Regions from separate parts of the Homo sapiens genome. Here all the other regions are linked to region 1. The links are contacts of gene promoters, found by promoter capture Hi-C in blood cells and fetal thymus (Javierre and others, 2016). All regions are on one chromosome and are shown on one strand. Each heading gives the region's core, a stretch centred on a gene start or on the middle of the fragment in contact. The rest is flanking DNA. Distances are from core to core; before and after follow the strand shown.

Evidence for each region. Contacts are between HindIII fragments. The CHiCAGO score rates a contact against its expected background, and 5 or more counts as called.
Region 2: a fragment that was not itself captured here is called in contact with the fragment with the promoter of SETX in region 1 in 1 of 17 cell types (monocytes); the score reaches 8.4 in monocytes.
Region 3: a fragment that was not itself captured here is called in contact with the fragment with the promoter of SETX in region 1 in 1 of 17 cell types (M2 macrophages); the score reaches 5.4 in M2 macrophages.

The regions. Positions count from the first base shown.
Region 1 is chr9:132,353,530-132,356,306 of GRCh38, reverse strand. It overlaps SETX (senataxin), which reads left to right and starts at 1,321. Exons shown (of 26, transcript NM_015046.7): 1 at 1,321-1,390; 2 at 2,552-2,658. RefSeq lists silencers at 1,022-1,411, 1,462-1,671 and enhancers at 1,056-1,555, 537-1,736, 1,556-2,057. The HindIII fragment of the contact is 16,783 bases long and covers 1-2,777 here.
Region 2 is chr9:131,140,686-131,143,462 of GRCh38, reverse strand. NUP214 (nucleoporin 214) reads right to left here. Exons shown (of 36, transcript NM_005085.4): 11 at 2,753-2,777. Among named protein-coding and RNA genes, the nearest start is that of NUP214, 16 kb to the right of the region's middle. The HindIII fragment of the contact is 2,492 bases long and covers 77-2,568 here.
Region 3 is chr9:131,162,424-131,165,200 of GRCh38, reverse strand. NUP214 (nucleoporin 214) reads right to left here. Exons shown (of 36, transcript NM_005085.4): 19 at 2,028-2,210; 20 at 1,246-1,331; 21 at 1,057-1,140. Among named protein-coding and RNA genes, the nearest start is that of NUP214, 38 kb to the right of the region's middle. The HindIII fragment of the contact is 3,479 bases long and covers 1-2,777 here.

The sequences.
Region 1 (2,777 bases), core at 72-2,571:
CATTTGAACCCAGGAGGCGGAGGTTGCAGTGAGCCGAGACTGCGCCACTGCACTTCAGCTTGGGTGACAGAGCGCGACTCCATCTCAAAAACAAAAAAGGGGGGGGATAGGCTTTCCAGTGGATTTTACTCATTTTTATTTATTTATAGACTTTTCTGAGACAGGGTCTTGCTTTGTTCCCCAGCCTGGAGTGTAGTGGCACAGTCACGGCTCACTGCAGTCTCGATCTCCCGGTCTCAATGGATATCCACCCCCTGCCTCAGCCTCCCAACAAGCTGGGCCCACAGGTGCTAATTTTTTTTTTTTTTTTTTTTTTTCCGGAGAGAGAGTCTCGCTCCTTTGCCCAGGCTGGAGTGCAGTGGTGCGATCTCGGCTCACTGCAACCTCTGCCTCCCGGGTTCAAGCCATTCTCATGCCTCAGCCTCCTGAGTAGCTGGGATTACAGGCACCCGCCACCACGCCCAGGTAATCTTTTTATTTTTAGTAGAGACGGAGTTTCACCATGTTGGTCAGGCTGGTCTCGAACTCCTGACCTCAGGTGATCCACCCGCCTCGGCCTCCCAAAGTGCTGGGATTACAGGCGTGAGCCACCGCGCCCGGCCTCGGTGGCTGAGTTTTAATTTTTTTTTGTACATACGGGTGTCTCGCTATGTTGCACAGGCTGGTCTCTGAACTCCGGGCTCAAGCGAGCCTCCCGCCTGGGCCTCCCAAAGTGGTGGGATTAGAAGCGGGAGCCACCGCACCAGCGAGGGATTTACTCTGCTGTGTTGCGCATCGCGCGCATTGTTCGCAAGACCTAAGGTCTCCCTTTCTTGTAATATAAAGGATATACACATATTCCTCCGAAATTACACGTTTATGTAATTTACATTTCAGGTCTTTAAAGGAAATCTAAAGAGAAAAATTACTTCGTCACCGTAGTACATCCGCTGAGACACCTGAGGCGTGGAAAAAAGAAGAAAAAAGAGGGAACGGAAATGGCCAGCGGGTAAGGGCTGACCCCACCCGCAGCAGAGCTCATCCCGGAGCCGCCCCACCCGCAGGAAGCCCCGGGCGGGGCCGAGGTCAAGGTTCCGCGGCAAACTCTCCCCGTCCACCCTGACGGGGACTCGGGATTGGTCGGGCCCCAGCTGCCCGGACGTGACGCCAGCGCCCGGCGTGGGCGGTGCACCGCGGCCGCTCTTCCCATGCCCCGCCCCCTGGGGGGCACCAAAACCAGAAAGCAGCGGCCGGGGCGGGGCCTGCGGCCGGCCGACTCAGCGCGGGGGCGGGGCCTACCTCGCGGCAACAGCTGGTTGGTAGCTGCGGCTGCGGGCCCGCACTTCCGCTGGTGGCCTAGAGCGGGGCCCGGTATGGAGGTGGGCTAGAGGCCGACGCCAGCCAGAGAGCGGTGAGGGTAGCGGCGGGCTGGAGGCCGTAGGTCGGGCGGGCGTGAGCGCAGGCGCGGCTTGTGCTTGCAGGGCCGCTTCGGGGAACCATCGCGGCGCCTAGGTCCCGGTGGGCGGATGGGGGAAGAGTCGGCGCGGGCTCGGCCGCTTCCCTCGGTGCGGGGGCGGGAGCACCCCTCGACGGCTGGCGGCCGCCTGTTGCCTTCCTGCGCGCTGGACCCGGCCGCTGCGACCCCCTGTCCTTCCGTTGTCTACACTGCGGTCTCGTGTGAGCTGTTTTTGGTGTGGATACTGCGTAGTTTCCTTGGGGCTGAGCGGGAGGTCTCGGGGTGGAAAGTGTCGGTTCCCTCCACACGCTCGTCTGCCTCTCGCCTGGAGTCCCTCCCTTTGTTTTTTTTTCTTTTTTCTTTTTTTTTTTTTTTTGAGACGGGGTCTCGCTCTGTCACCCAGGCTGAAGTGCAGTGGAACAGTCACGGCTCGCAGCAACCTCGTCTTCCTGGGCTCCAGCGATCCTTCCGCCTCATCCCCCCGAGTAACTGGGACCATAGGCGCGCGTCACCACGCCCGGCTAATTAAAAACAAAATGTGTTGCAGAGACAGGGCCTGGCTGTGTTTCCCAGGCTGAGCTCAGCTGCTCCAGGGATCCTCCGAGCCGCCGCGCCCGGCCGGTCCCTTCGTTTGGAGGAGAGTCTGTTTCTCCCACTTGGAGGGGCTGGAGCTTTTGCTGCTGGCCACAGGACTTTGTCCGTCCTCCCCAACTTCTGGGGATCTAAGGATGTGCCCAGCAATTTGCACGACCCAAGTGAAACGGGGGTGACTGCCTTGAGGGAAAAGAGCTCCACAAGGAGAAGGCCGAGTGTGGTATTTGATAAGTGACACAGCTGAGGATCCTAGGATTGATGTTACCTGCGCGGGCTAATAACTTGGGGGATTTTTGGCTCGGTGCCTAGCTGTCCCCGTGAGTGGGGACAGCCCCTTGTGGAACTGGGAGTCAGAATTGCAGTTCTGCTGTTTCCTGGAAGTCCACAGCCAAGTTGTCTAACCTATCTGGGCTTCCTCATCAGCCAGCAGTATCTGTCTGTAATAGGATCGATACCAGGCTCAGATGGGATATAGAGTATAAATGCCACTTACCAATTTCGTTTTTTGTTTTTTAATTTCAGAAATGTTCTTTTGGGGCCAGAGTCTGGGCATATATGAATGCAAATCCGTGTTTGTTCACAACTAAGCCCAGCTGAGACGATCACTTTTCTGTAGGCCATTTGTCCAGGTAATAATTTTTTTTTTTAGCAGGAGTTCAGAGCACCAAGGTAAGTGCAATGATGGAAACATGTGCAGAGTCCTAAAGGGACAGAGAAGAAGGTCATCAGAGATAGACTGGAAGAGAGG
Region 2 (2,777 bases), core at 73-2,572, 1.2 Mb after region 1:
TTTAAGAAAACATTTTGGCATTGTATAAAAAACTGTAAAAAACAGACCCAGTAATTTCTCTTCTAAGAATAAAGCTTACAAACATAATGCAAAAAATGAAAAAGATATTTAATGCAATCCAAATGGTTAAAAAGAAAAAAAAAAGTCAATGGAAGGCTGGGCGCAGTGGCTCATGCCTGTAATCCCAGAGCTTTGGGAGGGCAAAGCAGGAGGACCCTTTGAGTCCAGGAGTTTGAGACCAGCCTGGGGAACAAAGTGAGACCCTGTTGCTACAAAAAAAATACAAAAATCAGCCAGGTGTGATGGCTTGTGCCTGTAGTCCCAGCTACTTGGGAGGCTGAGGTGGGAGGATCGCTTGGACTTGGGAGACAGAGGCTGCAGTGAGCCAAGATCCTGCCACTACACTCCAGCCTGCACAACAGAGTGAGACCCCTGTCTCAAAAATGAATAATTTTTTTTTCTATTTTCCAAACTTTCCATAAGGTAAAAATATTAATCTTTAAATTAAATAACCAACTAAATAAGAAAAGAATTCTTTGTGTCAATATTTTCTATTTATATTAATAGGACTTGGTTGTTCCAAATTAGCTAAGATGGCAGTTTATCTTCATGGAAGACACTTTGTCTAATGCAACGTAATACTTAGATACAAGTATGAAAATACCACTTTCTGAAAACAAAAATCCAAGTAAACTGTCACATTGATGAAAGTATAATAATGCAAGCAAACCTATTCTGTTAATACTTCTTTATACAATAGATATGGAACCAGCTACAACTAACTTCTGTAAAGACATACATAGATGTTAAAACACTTTCATGCATATTAGGTAAACTGACATGAAAAATATATACCAGACCCTAAATAAATCAAAAGCATTTTTTCCACTGAAAACAGAACTGATTATTGGAAAACCATCATGCTACTACTACTTCTGATCAATACAGCATCCTTAGAACTGCAGTGTAGAAACAGGTGGAACCATTAATGTCTTCTGAACCCATGAAGTAGGCTTTAGCTAGACTTAGCTGATGGGACGGACTTTCTCCCCGCAGGGGCTCTCTTCTACACATCTGAACACAACTATAACCTCTGGACCAACTGTGAAGGAAGAGGGGAGTTTCTCTAGGAAAGGCTAACAGTAAAACTGGCCTCTGATTGTGCTCCAGCATTGAATGGGCTAGTAGCAAAGGCTCAGAAACAAACCTCGTCCCATCCCAGAGGCTCCTAATCTCACAGGCTGCTCTGCTTATTACAGACACACCAGGCAGCTGGGTATAGGTAGTTCATGGTACCCTTATTCATGGCTGAATAAGGAGGAAAAAAAAACAACACAAAGAGTACACACACTATGAATAATGGACTACCCTGATACAACACTCTGCAAGCCATCTGGTATATCACTTGGGGTAGTGCTGCCAGTTGTTAGGGCCCAAGTATCTGAGTGGCTCTATTTGTGATATACAACTCACTGTGCACTGGGATGCAGGAAGAGAATATACCCCTAAGTTATTGCTAACCTTATACAAACCAACTGGTCATACATTTTTGCTTAGGTAAGAAACTGGTCATAATAGAAGAAAAAAATTGTATCAGTTATATACTCACAGAATTCAAAAAGAGAAATATTAGTCAAATTCCAACATATGAAACAATGCTCTTTTTAAAAGTTTTATATTTTCTGGTCATGCACAGTGTATCATGCGTATAATCCCAGCACTTTGGGAGGCTGAAGCAGAAGAATCACATGAGCCCAGGTGTTTGAGACCAGCCTGAGCAACACAGTAAGACCCTATCTCTACAAAACATTTAAAAAATAGCTGCATATGGTGGCGCATGCTTGTAGTTCCAGCTACTTGGGAGGCTTAGGTGACTGCCTGAGCCTGGGAGATTAGGGCTACAGTGAGCTGTGGTCATGCCACTGCACTCCAACCTAGGCAACAGAGTAAGACCCTGTCTCCACAAAAAAAAAAAAAAAAAAAAGTTTCTTTTCACAAGTGATACAAATGTCACTGTAAAAATTGTTTAAATACAGACTAGTATTTATATGTGTGCATTCATTTTCATGGAGGATAGGTACCAAAATGTTGACTGTGGCCATTGTTTTGCATGCTCTCATTTTCCTTCAATAAACATCTATTACTTAAGAAATGTTTCAAAAAGGAGAAAAAAAGTCAAGAAAATATAAACAAAAATCTCCATGTTCCCATCACCCAGAAATAACCACCATTTAGACTTTAAATCCATCTCCAAGTTGTTTTTCTATGTATATGTTTTTTCTCATACAGAAAAGATCACAAAGAATAGTGGTTTTTTTTTTTTTGGTGATGTATTCCACTCACTCCTTCCCTGTCAATAAATATAACATTTATAATTGGTACATGGCATTTCACTGTAAGACTATACAATCATTTCTTTAACCAACCCCCATGATTAAGCACAATGTCTTTTGGATGCACATCACATAATATAGGGTCTTAGAAAACTGTTGGTAAACGACTGGATGCAAATCATCTGGTTGACCTTCCTTCATCTCCGAAGTAAAGTAATGGCTGCAGAATAAAGCTTGAGGGTAGGGGAAGGCAAATATGTACATGCATGTTTAAAAAAAAGATTAGTGTGTGCCTTCCTAAGACAGACCAGGCTGGTAAAGATAATCACTATGTGTCTTCACACCATGTTCATTCTTGGAAATACTCTTGTGCAAGCCCATGGTATTCCCTTACTGATAAAGCAGGCAGAGGCACATACCTGGTGACTTGGGCTGTCGCTCTCC
Region 3 (2,777 bases), core at 188-2,687, 1.2 Mb after region 1:
CTCCTGCCTCAGCCACCTGAAGAGCTAAGATTACAGGTGCATGCCACCGCACTCAGCTAATATTTTTTATTCTCCTTTATACTTTCCATATTTTTCCCAATTACCTACCAAGAGAATGTATTCTTTAGGTAAAGAAAAATTATTTGAAAATTAACTTGTCTGTGACTATTATTTATCTAATTTAGCTCTATGTGAGTACAGAAAAATAAATCAGTAAGATTAAATTTCTTTCAGTTATTCTGATTACCAAAAGCATTTGTTATTGGCATAAAAAAATTTTAACTGAAAACAGAATCTCAAAGAAAAATTTGGATATGGATACTAAAACAAAGCAGTTATGCCTAAAATTGTCACAAATTTTTCTTTAAATTGAAGTTATTATCTAGGTAATGTAATGGGAAAAAAATTTATGGCTTCTTTAAGCAAGTATTTTTAAGTAAGTATTTTTAATCAACATTGCTTAATCTTATTTTTTTCTTCTTTTTTCATAAAAGAAGCCTTTTTCGGCAAGGCACAGTGGCTCATACCTGTAATCCCAGCACTCTGGGAGGCTGAGGCAGGAGGATAACTTGAACCCAGGAGTTTGAGAACAGCCTGGGCAACATGGGGAGACCTCGTCTTTTATTTTTTTCTATTATTTATTTATTTTTTAAAATGCCTTTTTCCCAGATGCAAACTTACTCAAAACCCAACACAAATCAGAAAAGTAAACCTTCTCTGGCTAAAGCAGAGGCTAGGATCCAGCTCAGCCTATCTCAAACCCTTGTGAATCAGTGCCATAAAACTTGAGGACTGCAGAAAACAGTGTAAAAGCCAAAACGACTACTTTGCTGCTTCATCAAGTATATATAAGCTGGTTCTTATTCCACTATTCAGATTAACAACAGATTCTGGAGACATTTTCTCTATCCCCTATTAAGAACCAACACACACACACTTACACACACATACACAGCACCCTAGCTCACACATGCACACGTGCATGTGCGCGCGCACACACACACACCCCACCACACCCTATCACTATGTACAGGCCCAGTTACTGGTTCTCTTTACCTGGAGCAGTGGATCTCACTGGTGGGGTCTTCCTCTTGGCCAAGAAGTTTCTCAGTTGTGCCTGTTTCATGGGGGACAGTTTGGCTGCAAGAAATCCATAAACCCATAAATGATTAAGACTCAGTTTTTAAGATATCAGTACTTGGAAGAGAATAAAGGGAGTTAAAAGACTGGGAAGGATGCAATTACCTGGTACTTTGGGCAAGGATTTGGTGTGAGATTCTATGGTGGTTTTCAACAAAGCATTGCACAGGCTTTCCAGGTCACTGTCAAAACTGAAACAGAACAGTGTTAGATACAGACCAACTAGGAGCTGAAAGATCGGAGGCTGTCGGGGGTACACTATCCTCTTAAATATAAATGCAAGACATGAGAATATCCCCAATATATAAACATGCCATCTGACCAACTGATGGAATTAATCTAAAAGAAGTGAGATCACAATCATATTATATACCATCTCCACCTCAAACACAACATGATGGTGCCTCAGTAGAAAAAGTAATTAAAATTTATACATTTGGCCTAAAAGCATAAACACAAAACCATTTTGGTAAACTCAAGGCAAACTGTCAATCTGCCAGGGTCTGAAAGTCCCCCCATTCAAGCAGAATGGCAAATCTGGGCTTCAGAAACAAGTCAGTCAACTTAATCCTATCAGCTGATTTTCAATCAAACCATGACACTGTTACTATGGTGTATCACTTGCTATGATATATTCAGCACCCATTTCATCAGTGTAATATTTTACAGACTTAATTTAACTCTCCAACAATCCCACGAAGCAGGTATTGTCATCCTCATTTTTTAGGCAAAGAAACAAAGGATCAGAGAGGGTGGGACCCTGACCAGGATTACACAGGTGAGAGACACAGAGTCACTTGCAAACCCATATCTGAACCACTCTAAGACTCCCTAAATGTTCATGCATTCATTCACCCATATTTATTGAGTGCAAGTCCTCTCCACACCTGTGAATGCTGCTCTGGGAAGGAACAGCCGAGGACAGGCTCCACAGGGAAGTCTGTTTGTAAAGGCGGAGCTGCTGAAGACTATCCACCAGGTGATTCAGCCTCTTCCTCTGTTGGTTGATGATTTCCCGATTGTTGGCTAGGGTGTTAAACAGTGTCTCTCGCTCTGGCACAAGCAGGTGCCTGTTGACAACAATGAGAAAAGAATTAAACATGAATGGTTCAAGTAAAGGAATCTCCCAGTAAAAAAACAAACAAGACTACAATGGTAACAGTGAAAATGATAAAATGGAGAACCAGCACTGGACAAGAACCATTAAGAAATTACTAGAAAATAAAAAGGAGATGAAAGCCTAATGAAGATAAAATGGAATGTGGAGAAAACAGCTGGAAACAGGCAGGCCAGTCCTGTAGCAAAGGACAGCATACATTAGGTGAAACCTGAGAGAGGCCCTGGGAAGAAAAGGGCAGGAGTGAGGTGTGAGTCAGGAACCAGGAAAAAGCCAGTCAGCTTTCTACTTAGAATTTATCTGTTTTTCTGAATGTAAATTATATTCAATTAAAAAAAAAAGGTTCACTGGAAGTCTATGGGAGTCAGTTAATTCTTCAGACTATTGTCAAGAAATAGGGGGACAGCATAAGATTTAGCATCAGGAAGGTAACCTGCCCAAAAGAACTAAAACAAGACAGAGACAACAGTAGCTGCCTCTGGGAAGTAGGTCTGACTGTAGAGGGCGACAGGTCTATTTG